Linked DNA regions of Homo sapiens: region 2 is linked to region 1. Evidence: promoter capture Hi-C in human tissues and cell types (Jung and others, 2019). All regions are on one chromosome and are shown on one strand. Each heading gives the region's core, a stretch centred on a gene start or on the middle of the fragment in contact. The rest is flanking DNA. Distances are from core to core; before and after follow the strand shown.

Region 1 (5,200 bases), core at 2,668-5,167:
TTGGGGCTTCCCAGCACCACCCCCCACCCCTCACCTGCCAGGGCCCAGCTAGGCTGCAGCGTCTCCTCGGCAACCGCAGCACCAGGACCGGCTGGGAGCGCCCAGACTGCTGACGTGCTTCCCGTTACCAGGGAAACCAGGAATCCTGACTGGTCCAAGAGGCAGTACTAAGGGACAGGCAGTCCCAAGACCCTGCTGCTGGGCAACCAGACACAGCAGGGCTGGGAGTGGGCGTGGTTACGCCAAGGTGGCTGCACACCTGACGAGAGTTATTCAGGCAGGGTGCTTCACCATCCTCAGCTTCCAAATGACGTGGGCCCACAGACACCCAAAGAGGAGGGGCTCTTGCCCATCCACCTTCTAGGCAGCCATCACCGCCTCTCCTCACCCCCACTTCCCCCTAACTCACACTCTATGGAATAAGGTTTTCAATAGGCACCTGAAACTTAGCTGAGGCTCAGGGAATACCTGCTGTTCCCTAGAGACCCTCCATTGCCTCAGGACTCTCCTGCTAAAACCTTCCAGGAACAGCACCCTAGGGCCTCCATGCCCTCCACAGCCACAGCCTGCTTCATGAGGGCTGGCTGGACACTTCTGGAATCTGGGGACCAGTTCACCATCTCCTGACTGAGTCACACACACCAATCCATCTGCCATCCCTGTCAGCCTGTACCTTCCTGCTTCAAAGAGCTTCATCCTTCCGATCTGTCCTGGAAGGGCAGTTTCTCCCCCCTTGGCCATCTGGGAGGCCCTTCTGGAGCTTGGCACATCTCCCTCCAAGCGCAGCCCACCCCGGCCTTTGCTTTCACACACATGCATTTATTCCAGAACGCACACCTTCACTCCTGCATCGATTCATGCGACACTTACATATAAAATACATTAAATGTTCACGTATCATTCCTTCCTTCCTTCATTCGTTCATCCACAAATGCCTTAGTGGTGAAGCCAGGTGTACTCACTTGCTCAGGAATCAGTGATTGACTTAAAGCTTTCCCCTTCTCTCCACCCCACATAACTAACATAGCCCAGGCTACTAGCTTTTTTTTTTTTAACCTGCATCATTGCAAAAACATCATAACTGGTCTTTCTCTTCCTATCTGGTCTCCTCCAATCTCAGCTGCACAGTACAGCCCAAATGATTCTTCTGAGATGCTAAACTAATCAAGTAATTTTCCAACGGAATCCTCTTAATTGTTTTGTCACTGCCCTCAGGATAAAGTCCAAATTCCTCCCCAGGTTTTATGTGCTGTCATGAACCCCTGTCTGCCTCTCAGCCTTACCTCCAGCCACTCCCCTTCTCTCTCTTTGCTTGGGACATGCCCCCTTGTCCTCTCCCAGCCCACCTCCCTTACTCTCGATTTTCACCTGGCTATCACCTACCTCTCCTTCAGACATCAGTATACAGGTCCCTTCTTAAAACTGACCCATTGCCCTCTCCCCCACCACTCTCACAGGCAGGGTCAGGGGCCCCTCCTGTACTTCCCCAGCCCCAGAGAGCTCATCGCACTGATCATAACCACTTGTTTCTTTCTTTGTCTCCTCACCAGGCTGTGAAGGCCAGGAGGTAAGAACATCTTTGCCCCATAGTATACATTTCCAGCATTTACGATAAGGCCTGGAGCAGAGTATGAATTCAATACAGGTAGTAAAGTTTATTCATTCATCATTCATTTAATTCATGAATTCATGCATTTATGCATTCAATCCATAGCTCTATGAATATCCTACAATAGGAAGGAGAATATAATTTTTGCTCAATTCTAGCCTCATTTCTGCAGGAGCACAAACCTTCTCTGCAGCCCTCATGGTCATAGCAACACAGTTGTAAAAGAGTGACTTGGCCCCTTTCCTGGGCTGGCCCCCACCTCTATCCTCAATTCACAATGTCTCCACCAGTGCATGATCCTTGAGAATCCTCTTGCCACTCCAACATCCTTGCTGAGGTCACTGCCCAGCAAACCCGCCCCAGCTCTTCAGCAGTACTATCCCCCTACTCCTAGAAGCTTCATAGGTAGTTCAGAGTTGCAGCCCCCACAGTGACCATCCCAGGGGCAAGTGAGCAACTAGGCCTCTATTTGGTCACTGACTCACACCCCCTAGTCTTGCAAACTTCCAACCTACAACCTGCAGACTGATGCAAGCCTCAGATAGATTGTGTGTGGCCTGCACAGTGCTTTTTAAAAAATAGAATTTGTTGTTAACGTTTAGAAATTGGGCTATTTTACACCAATATCTAGTTTTCAGTTTCCCTTTAACTGGCTGCATTGAGACTATATTTTTCCTCACCCCAATCCCAAAAATAATCAGCTGGAGTGCAGGAGGGGCTGTTCCTTTTAAAAGGAGTTGAGACAATGACCACCAAAGGCCACTAACATCACAAAAAAGAGAGGCAATCAGACTTTGCCTTTAGTAGAAGTATTTTTTTTTTTTTTTTTGAGACGGAGTCTCGCTCTGTCGCCCGGGCCGGACTGCGGACTGCAGTGGCGCAATCTCGGCTCACTGCAAGCTCCGCTTCCCGGGTTCACGCCATTCTCCTGCCTCAGCCTCCCGAGTAGCTGGGACTACAGGCGCCCGCCACCGCGCCCGGCTAATTTTTTGTATTTTTAGTAGAGACGGGGTTTCACCTTGTTAGCCAGTATGGTCTCGATCTCCTGACCTCATGATCCACCCGCCTCGGCCTCCCAAAGTGCTGGGATTACAGGCGTGAGCCACCGCGCCCGGCCTAGTAGAAGTATTTAATACCACCTATGAAATATTCTTGCAAAAGCAAAACACAAAAATGCTCAAATCTGAATCTGATCAAGGCTCTAGAACTAACTACCAATTTACAGGAAATCCAGGGGAAGAGGAGCATGGTAAATATGACCACAGGAGAGAGTCTGAAAAATCCAAACCATAGAAAACTCAGGACAAGCAACATGATTCTCCAGTTAAAAAACAAAAGCAAAACTGCAAACAACAACAACGAAAAAAATAGAAGGGGAACTTGATCAAACATAACTTTAACAGATAGATCAGGCCAGACATGGTTGCTCACACCTGTAAGCCTAGTGCTTTGGGAAGCCAAGGTAGGAGGATTGTTTGAGAACAGGAGTTCAAGACCAGCCTGGGCAACATGGTGAGACACTGTCTCTACATTTTTTTTTTCCTTCTTTTTTTTTTTTTTGAGAAGGAGTCTCGCTCTTATTGCCCAGGCTGGAGTACAATGGCTCTATCTCAGCTCACCACAACCTCTGTCTCCCGGGTTCAAGTGATTCTCCTGCCTCAACCTCCCGAGTAGCTGGGATTACAGGCGTTTGTAACCACGCCCAGCTAATTTTGTATTTTTAGTAGAGACAAGGTTTCACCATGTTGGCCAGGCTGATCTCGAACTCCTGACCTCACGTGATCCACCTGCCTCGGCCTCCCAAAGTGCTGGGATTACAGGCATAAGCCACCATGCCCAGCCAATGTTTGTGTTTTTTGTAGAGACAGGGTTTCACCATGTTAACCAGGCTGTTTCTGAACTCCTGGCCTCAAGCAATCCACCCACCTTAGCCTTTCAAAATGCTGGGATTACAGGCGTGAGCCACTGTGCCCAGGCTCAATCCAGCCTTTTTTTGGCAGGATATTTAATGATATTAAAGAATTATTATTAAATTTTTGTAGGTACAATAATGATATTGTGGTGGGTTTTTTTTTTAAGAGTTTTATCTTTCAGAAATGCAAAAGTAAACTGTTGTTGTTGTTGTTGAGAAAGGGTCTCTCTCTGCCATCCAGGCTGGAATGCAGTGGCTCAATCATGGCTCACTGTAGTCTCGACTTTCTTGGGTTCGGATGATCCTCTCAGGTCAGTCACCTGAGTAGCTGAGACCACAGTGGCTGATGCCTCCACTCCCGGCTAATTTTTTTGTCTTTTTTATAGAGGAGAGGTTTTGCCATGTTGCTCAGACTGGTCTTGAACTCTTGGGCTCAAGCAATCTACCCATTTTAGCCTTCTAAAATGCTGGGATTACAGGTGTGAGCCACTGCACCCAGCTGTAAACATTTATAGATAAAAGTATTTGCTTCAGAATAACCTACGCTGGGCCTAGGAACGGAAGAGAGCATGCAGGTAGCAAGATTAGTTATGTATTGATAATTGGTAAAACTGGCTCGTGGGTAAATCAGGCTCATTATTCTTTTCTCTCTATTTTTGTGTATGTTTGAAAATGTCCAGAATGAGTTTTTCGAAAGGGGATGGTGTGCAGCCCTAGGCTCATCTGAACTGCATGTTCTCCACAAAGATTGCACAGTTTGGGGTATGGGTATTGTGTCCGCCACCTGGTAAGGATAGGGGTCTTTCCTAATCTTTCTTAGACCTCCATCTACAAAACTCCAGGGTTTTGGTTGTAACTATAGCCCATTATCTCCACTCTTTGTTCCTCAGCTTTTCCTGTATTCGCTACACGACATTAGAAAATGTGGAGACTCAGCTTAATTTAAATGGACATATTTAATGATTAAGCCCTGGAGTCCTAGTATCTATTCTCCTCCCCCTACCCAAAGGGTTTTCTTTTCTAACTTTTAGTCAATATCCTACTCCTGACAAAACTGTATCCTTGCAATGGTGCTGGAGCATGTGGATTATAAGCACACAACATTCCCAGTCTTTCCAAACAGACCTCTGTGGGGAGCTGCTGGCTGCTCCCAACAGGCGTGACCTGTTAAAACGGGGCAGACTGGCGACAGAGTGAGACTCTGTCTCAAAAAAAAAAAAAACGGGGCCGACTGTCCCAAGTGCACCTGAGTGCATTGTGCTCTATGCATTGGCGGCAGCATAACACGGGGCCAAGAGCTCAGGCCTGGACTGAGACCTGGTTTAGATTTCAGCTCTATTGTAATCTCAGCCTGTCTGTGGTCTCGAGAAAGCTACTAAACCTCTCTGGATCTCTTTTTTGTTATCTGTAATATGGGAATCATCATAATATTTACCTCACAGCTTTATTGTAAGGATAAAGCCTGAAAATGCTGAGCAGAGGGCCAGTTACCTAGTCAGTGCCCAGTAAACTAGTCCACTTATCAACCATGGTGGCATGCATAATGAATAGATCCATCCATCCGGGCATGCATGATGGTCAGATCTACCAGAATGTCCAAGCACTCTCTGAATGAAAAAGCCTGGACATGGCCTGCTGTGGCCTCAGGGTATGGGCTCTCAGCTCACATCAGGCTGGCA
Region 2 (7,538 bases), core at 2,085-4,584, 150 kb before region 1:
GGGCTTGTCCTGTGCCCTCCTTCACCCTCGAGCCAGAAAACAGCCACCATTCGTTCCTTGCCACATTATCCCCTCCATCTTCAAGCTATCAACAGTGTGTTGAATTCTTCTCATTCTTCCAATCTCTTTGATTTCCTCTTCTGCTACCAGCAAGAAAAAAAGAACCCTTGGCTTTTAAAGAACTCATGTGACTTGGTTAGGACTAGCCAGATAATCTGTCTATCTTGAGATCAACTGATTAGTAGAATTAACTCCATCTGCAAAATCCCTTTTGCCATATAACATAATTGTGGGAGTAGTATCTCATCATATGCACAGGTCCATCCACACACAAAAGAAGATTATATAAGGGTGACAGTCATTGGTGGTCATCTTCTAATTCTGCCTACCCAAGGAGAGGAAGCCAGGGGAAATATCCCTGAAGAATCGTAGCTTGAGCTGAGATCAGATGGATGAGTAAGTGTTAACTAGGTAAGGAAGGAAAGAAGAAGCTTCCAGAGAGCATATGGAAAAGTCATGCAACTGAAGGACATATAGCAAAAAAAAAAAAAAAAAAAAAGAAAAGAAAAAAGAAAAATAAAAGAGAAAAAAGAAGGAGTGACCAAAAAAAGGCTAATGTGTTTACAGTGGAGAGAATAAGAATCATTGTGACTCTTATTTGAAATAATGTGATTTGAAATAATGTGGCTAGAGAGGTAAGTGGGAGCCAGGCCTCACAGGCTTTCTAAATTCTGTTAATATGTTTTCTCATTCCCAAAAGCAAAGGTCAAAAGAGTGGGATAGTCAGATTTGTATTCTGAGCATAGTACTTCGGCTTTAAGGTGAAGTATAGATGTAGAGAGGCATCAGTAAAATGTGGTGGCCCATTTAGGAGGTTAGGAGTGTGGTTCAAGAGTAGGGTAATATCAGTGGACATATAAGCAGGCAGATTCAAGGAACACTCAGTAGCTAAAATGAACAGGACTTTGTGATTGATTCAATATGGGAGTGATGTAGTTATGTTCCCCAGGAAGCAGACTCTCAAACAAAGATTACTGTGGAGGATGTTTACTAAGGAGCGTTCTTGGAGTTAACACCTGTGCAAGAGAGAGGATGAAAATAGGATTGGGCAAAAGGAGAAGCTGAGTAGTAATTCAGTCCCAGCAAAGACCTCAGTCAACCATATGAAGGGTTCTAGGGGTGTGAGCATCTTTCAGAGTTGTCCACCACTGGGTTGAGGGGATTAAACTTTTATACCTCTGTGCTGATCGGTCATTGGATATAGAATGCCCAAGAAAGGGAGCATAACCTTGGATGAGCTGGCTTTCTTCTGCTTAGGCAACTCCTGAAGGGTTATGACAGCTGAGGGCCATCTTTTAGGAGCACTCTCCACAGCTGGAAAATAAATCCTCCATTTTTGAAGAGGGTTCTGGGCTTTGCATCACAGCATCCAGCGCAGGGGTGAAGGAGCATAGGGGAGTAAGGCATCAATAATAATTCCTAAATTTCTGATTTGTACATCCTGGTGGGTGCACTTAACGACCATATATTACAATCATTGGCTTGCTTGGGAAAATCCCACTAGAGTAGGTGCTACTGAGGGGCAAACTATATTGGACAACTAGTGCATACCCCTAGAACTGGCATAGTTTGCTAAATAAGTGAATGTCCATCTATTTCTATTTTCACTCCCCTCTCCCTTACATCCTTTGCTCCCTTCCCTCCTCATCGTACTGTCATCCAATGTGGGAAAACTTGAGCAGGTTATCTGAGGCCCCACCTGTGCTGGAGCGGAACAAATAGCAAATCAAGCTCCTCTGGTCCAGGCTCTCTGATGGGCAAGACAGGCAGTACCAGGAGGAAGGAAAGGGGGAGCAGTTGATGACATCTCAGGCATAAACTGTCTTTCAACTCTCTTTCAATGCTTCAGCCCCTATAAACTCAGGGCTGGCTGAACCAGGTCCTCTCCAAAAGATTAATTGGATAAGGGCCTGCTGAATCCCCCATAAAGCCAGACTCCATTCTCTAATTTGCTCTTCCACTGATGCCCGCCCCCAACCTCTTACAGCTACTGCTGGGGGTCAGAAGAATTTCACATCGTATTGGAGTTCATCCGGAATCTGAAGAATGGATAGGAATCTGGAGATAGGAATCTGGAGATAGGAATCTGGGGAAGAAAAGGAATGGATAGGAGAATGCATAGGGAGCAGGGCTGAAATAGTAGAAGAGGCAAATCCTGCCCCGAGAAGCTGAACCCAGTTCAGTCCTGCACCCTTCAGCCCTGTTCCCGCTGCACCGCAGTGACCCAGTCCCCTTCTAGCCCCCTCTCGTGGGAACCTGACACCCTACACAGGCAGCTCTGCCTGCACTGAGAGCAAACAGGGAGCGTTAGCGTGTCGGGTGGGCGTGGGCGCTGCCTGGAGACGGTGGAGAAAGCCAACCTTCTCCTTCTCTTTTGCCTGCGCTGGGCCGGCGTTAGAATTATATCCCATCCTCACCTTACTCTGGTTTATCCTTGTCAGTGCTTGCCACCACCCCCAACTGCCCTCAACACTCAAGTCAGAAGCTTCCTCCCGGGAGCCCTTTTCCCTGGCAAGGCTTCCCTGGAGCCAAATCTCGGCCCCGGCCCCACCCCCACTCCCGCCCAGCTGTGGAGGGCTCCTTGGGACCCTTAAGTGCAAGCCTGAGTGTTAAGCCTCAGACAGGAGATGGAGGGTGCGGAGACAGATGCAGGAGCTACCCCAGGCCCGCAGCGAGGAGCTGCAGGGAACTACGGTAGCAATAGTGTCACGGTCACTGCGGCCACTGCAACACAGTACGGTAAATGCGGCTCTAGGCTCAGACTAAAGCATCCGCGCCTCAGCAGGTGACGCACGCAGACCTGGTCTCCAACGCCACCTCCACGTTCCCTGATACACCAGAGAAAGATGCTGGATCCGTGGCAGCCGTCTCTACCCAACCCCTCCTACCCTCCCTTCCCCGAAACCTCCCCCTACGCTGCCAATACTCTTGTCTTCAATCTCTCTCTCTCTCTCTCTCTCTCTCTCTCTCTCTCTCTCTCTCTCTCATTCCTGGGAATCGGGGGTGGGGGCGGGTGATAAAGAGAGGTGGGCAGGAGAGAAATCTCTAAGAGGAGACGGGACACATCTAGGGAGGGGGCGAGCCTGGAGGACAGTCGCACAGGGAGGGGCAGAACTCCCGAGCCAGGGAGGGGGTGCACAGTCACCTGGCGGGACAGAGGCTGGCGGAGGGACGGGAACCCAGGCGGGGCGAGCCGCGGGAGAGTGGAGGGCAGGCGCCTGGGCTGGGGGCGGGGACCAGGCGGGGCAGGGGGCAGGGAGAGGAGGGCGGCGGGAGCCTGAGCCGGAATCGCAGCGTGAGCAGGTGGAGCCGCGTTGGGAGCCCGCCGGGTCGAGCTGAGTAAGGCGGCGGGCTCGGCGGGGGCCATGGAGCTGCTAAAGCTGAACCGGAGCGTGCAGGGAACCGGACCCGGGCCGGGGGCTTCCCTGTGCCGCCCGGGGGCGCCTCTCCTCAACAGCAGCAGTGTGGGCAACCTCAGCTGCGAGCCCCCTCGCATTCGCGGAGCCGGGACACGAGGTGGGTGCCTCCCTCAGCCCCCCCCACAAGCTATTTCTCACTGTACCCCAGAACACTAATAGAGTCCCCCCAACGAGCTCCACACTACCTTCTCAAACGTCCACACCGTGCCTCTCATAGTACTCCCTCAGCCCCCAAACAGCTCCCCTCACACCTTCACCCCCACAGCCTACAACTTCATCACAGCTTCACACCACCTGGTCGGAACTCCTTCACATCCTGGTCCCCTGAATACACCTAGAGCCCCTGCTCACCCCAAAGCACAGCCCCTTCCCCAACACGCAGCCCCTCCTAGACACCAGTCAGAAGGCGAGGACCTCCTCTTGCCAACCCTGCAGATCTCCTTTTCCCTCTTACATCCAGTTCACAGAGCCACAACAGAGAAGGGAAGGAAGAAAGGAAGGCAGGACTGGGAAAAGAAGGGGGCTGGTTGAGGGAGGGAGCACTCTGGAAAGCTTGAATGCGAAGCTGAAGTTGTGATCACATCTGACACCCCAGCCCCCAGCCATCCCAAAAAAGATCCTCAAATCTGAATTAGGCTGGACACTAGGGGATGCTCCTTAGAGCTGCCTGCCTCCATTTCACTCCTTCTCAAACCCCTCTGCCTCCCTAGTTGGAGCTTTCGAGGCTCTGTGCCCTCTCTCTTTGTCTGCAAGTAATGTCTCCAGCTATCTTCCAAGCTCTCTCTCCAGCCCTAGGCTAGGTGCTGGGGGCACAGGGCAAACTAGACCCAGTCTGGACCCTCATGGCCCATAGCCAAGTGCAGAGAGAAACCAAGCAAATGGAAAAATCACAGACACAATGGAAGTCCCATGAAAGGGTCTAAACTGTGGGCACCAAAAGAACTTCACAGAGGCTAGAACCTTAGAGCTGGGTCTTGAAGTTGAGTAGGCAGAAAAGGAAGGAGTGGGATTCTAGGTGAAGGAGCAATGTTAAGCAGAAGGAAATTTTTCTAAACTCAAAAAGGGAAAGTTGGAATAAATTGTAATCCAAGTATTTATTTACCCCACGAAATAATCTATGCTTTCTCAGCCGAGTTGTTACACACTCACACTTGGATTCTGTCATTCAGCCAATATTTATTGAACCAGAGATTGTGCTAGGCAGTGGGAATGTAAGTTGAACAAAACCGACACAATTCCTACTTCACAGAGCTCAAAGTTTAATGGGCGAGACAGAAAAGCAGGGGATTGCAGCACAAAGTGGAAGAGCCTTGACAGGGAAAAGATAGTGGGAACACAAGTGGAACACCTCTAGCCCAGCCCAGCCTCCTTGAGAATTAAAGTTGGCCTCTTGAGGAAATGAGCTACAAAGTCAAAAAAATTAGGGAGGCTGGCTCTAAGCTTCCTGTTGGCAAAAAAAAAAAAAAAAAAAAATATATATACACACACACACACACACACACACACACACACACACATATACATATGGGAGAGCCAGCCAAGTGAACGGGCAGAAGAGGCAGAAAGCATCCCAAATAAAAGGACAAGATGTATAAGAAGCTCAAAGTTTGAATTCATGGCACTTTTATCCACTGTGACATAGTTTTGAGTGACTAGAACATATATCTTAAGAAGGGAATAATGAACAGGCTGGAGACCAGCCTAGAGGGTTTGCAGAGAGCCTGCTAGGCCTGACCATGGAACATGGACTTTCTCCCGAGGGCAATAGGAACTACTAAAAGATTCGGTAGTACTACCAGGATTAGTTCTATAATGTGGAGAACGGATTGGAAGACATAAGATGGAAGGCAGGGGGATACTTTACAAGGTTACTATATTACACTGTTCTGGGTGAAAGATGATGCTAGCTGAGACTAAGGTAATGGCAAGGGAGATGGAGAGAGGTGGATAGATTTGAGAGCCTCTTCTGGAAATGGAATCAACAGATTAGAAGCAGAGAGGATGGAAGAGGTCAAGGGATGACATTCAGATTTCTAACTTGGACAACTGAATGGATATTGGTGCTATAGCAATTGTATACAATGAGAAAGATAACAAAACAGCAGAAACAGGTTTGGAAGAGGGAATTATAAATTCAGTTTGGAACCCATTGAGTTTAAATGTTAGTGGGGCATCCAGGTGAGGTTACCTAGTAAGCTGTTGAATCCAGGGGTCTGGAACTTACAGGAGAGGTCTGAGGTGGAAATACAGACTTGAAGAAGGTCTTTGCCTACAGGATGTAGAAGCCCCGAGAATAGTTAAAATCATAAAATTTTGTATAGAATGAGAAGAAAATAGGTCCTAGGTCAAGACTCTGCATAAGACCATTATTTAAAAGCCAGGCAGAGAAAGGAGAATTTATGAAGGAGATTCAGATGAAACCATCAGAAAGGCAGGAGCTACGCCCTTCCAGAAAGCAAGAAAAAGAGAGTTTCAAGCAGGTTGGGGTAAGTGATATCAAATGCTATTGACATAAGTTACATAAATAAAAAACAGGACAGTCAGAACAGCATCCTTCACATTCAATAACAAGAAAATATTTAGGAGTTGTAGGTATTGAGGCTTGACTATGGTAGGTTAAAGATTGGACTGGTGAGAGAAGGAGTTATGAGAAGTGAACCAAGGTATGTAGCCAAAACTTTCAAGAAGTCTGGTAGGCAAAGAAAGAGAGAGAGAGAGAGAGAGAGAGAGAGAGAGAGAGAGAAAGAAAAGCAGGATATTGCCAAAAATAGCATGAGATTGAGGAAGGGGGGAGTGGGTATGTGCATAGGTTTGTTACGTGTGTGCGCGTGTGTGTGCACGCATTTTAAAACAAGAGCTTTTTAAAATGTTTGTTGGTGATTGGGCCGAGAGAGGAAGATTGAAGGTGCAGATAAGAAAGGGGATAGTCAATAGAGAAGATTCCCTGTGAAAGCGGGATGTGACGCAATTCAGAGCACAGGTGCAAAAATTTGCCTCACTTATCTAAATGCTCCTCACACATTTGGATGTTACCCAGCCAGTCAGATGTTACACACAGAGACCCTGTCAGCCACACTCATTCAGATATTATCCCTGCAGATGCATAGGTTACCCAGGTTCACTCCAATGTTACCAATAGGAATTTGGATGTTACCACTTTATTCTCCTTATATAATCCATGCAGACTTGAGTATTACCCATGTTCACTCAGATAGTACCCACAGAAAGACAAATGTTACCACACTCACTTTAATATTGTCCGAAGTCATTTTGGTGTTACCCATCCATCAAACACTACTCACTTTCATTTTATTATTATCCACACACAACCAGATATTACCTATGCTCACTTAAGTAAGCTTTTCCCAGATACTACCCATAAAATTACAAATATTACTCTCACATACTCAGATAATACCCACAAAAGCTTAAATATTACTTACATTCACTCAGGTGCTCAGTTATTTCATTTACTCAGATTAACATCTTTTTTTTTTTTTTTTTTTTGAGGCAGTCTCCCTCTGTTGCCCAGGCTGGGGTGCAGTAGCATGATCATGGCTCATTGCAGTCTTGACCTCCGCAGGCTCAAGTGATCCTCCCACCTCAACCCCCTAAATAGCTGGGACTACAGGCATGTGCCACCACAAGTGGCTAATTTTTTGTATTTTTTGTAGAGATAGGGTTTTTCCATGTTGCCCAGGCTGGTCTCTAAATCCTTGGCTTAAGAGATCTGCCCACCTCAGCCTTCCAAAGTGCTGGGATTACAGATATAAGCCACCATGTCTGGCCCAGATTAACATCTTAATTTAGTTAACATGTTAACATCTAACATCTGTACTCAAATACTACCCATACATACTTGGATATTACTTCTGCTCAGTCAGCAATTTCTATCATTATTTGGATATTCCACTACTCACAAGTAGACCTCTGAATGTAATCTATGCTTCCTGAAGATGTTACCTACAAAATGTTATCTACAGAGAGTTGGATATTAACCCTTGCTCTTTCAAATGTTACTACAGTGACTCAGATATTATCTAAACTTAAATGTAAGCC

What was found. Contacts are between HindIII fragments. The study calls those that stand out against the background at their distance.
Region 2: the fragment with the promoter of CCKBR here is called in contact with a fragment that was not itself captured in region 1 in 1 of the 25 tissues and cell types used here (dorsolateral prefrontal cortex).

What each region holds. Positions count from the first base shown.
Region 1 is chr11:6,405,353-6,410,552 of GRCh38, forward strand. The region is part of intron 2 of APBB1 (amyloid beta precursor protein binding family B member 1); the gene reads right to left. Among named protein-coding and RNA genes, the nearest start is that of APBB1, 11 kb to the right of the region's middle. RefSeq lists a silencer at 1-261. The HindIII fragment of the contact is 6,856 bases long and covers 490-5,200 here.
Region 2 is chr11:6,256,504-6,264,041 of GRCh38, forward strand. CCKBR (cholecystokinin B receptor) reads left to right here and starts at 3,335. Exons shown (of 5, transcript NM_176875.4): 1 at 3,335-3,576. The coding sequence starts at 3,426. The HindIII fragment of the contact is 2,957 bases long and covers 1,519-4,475 here.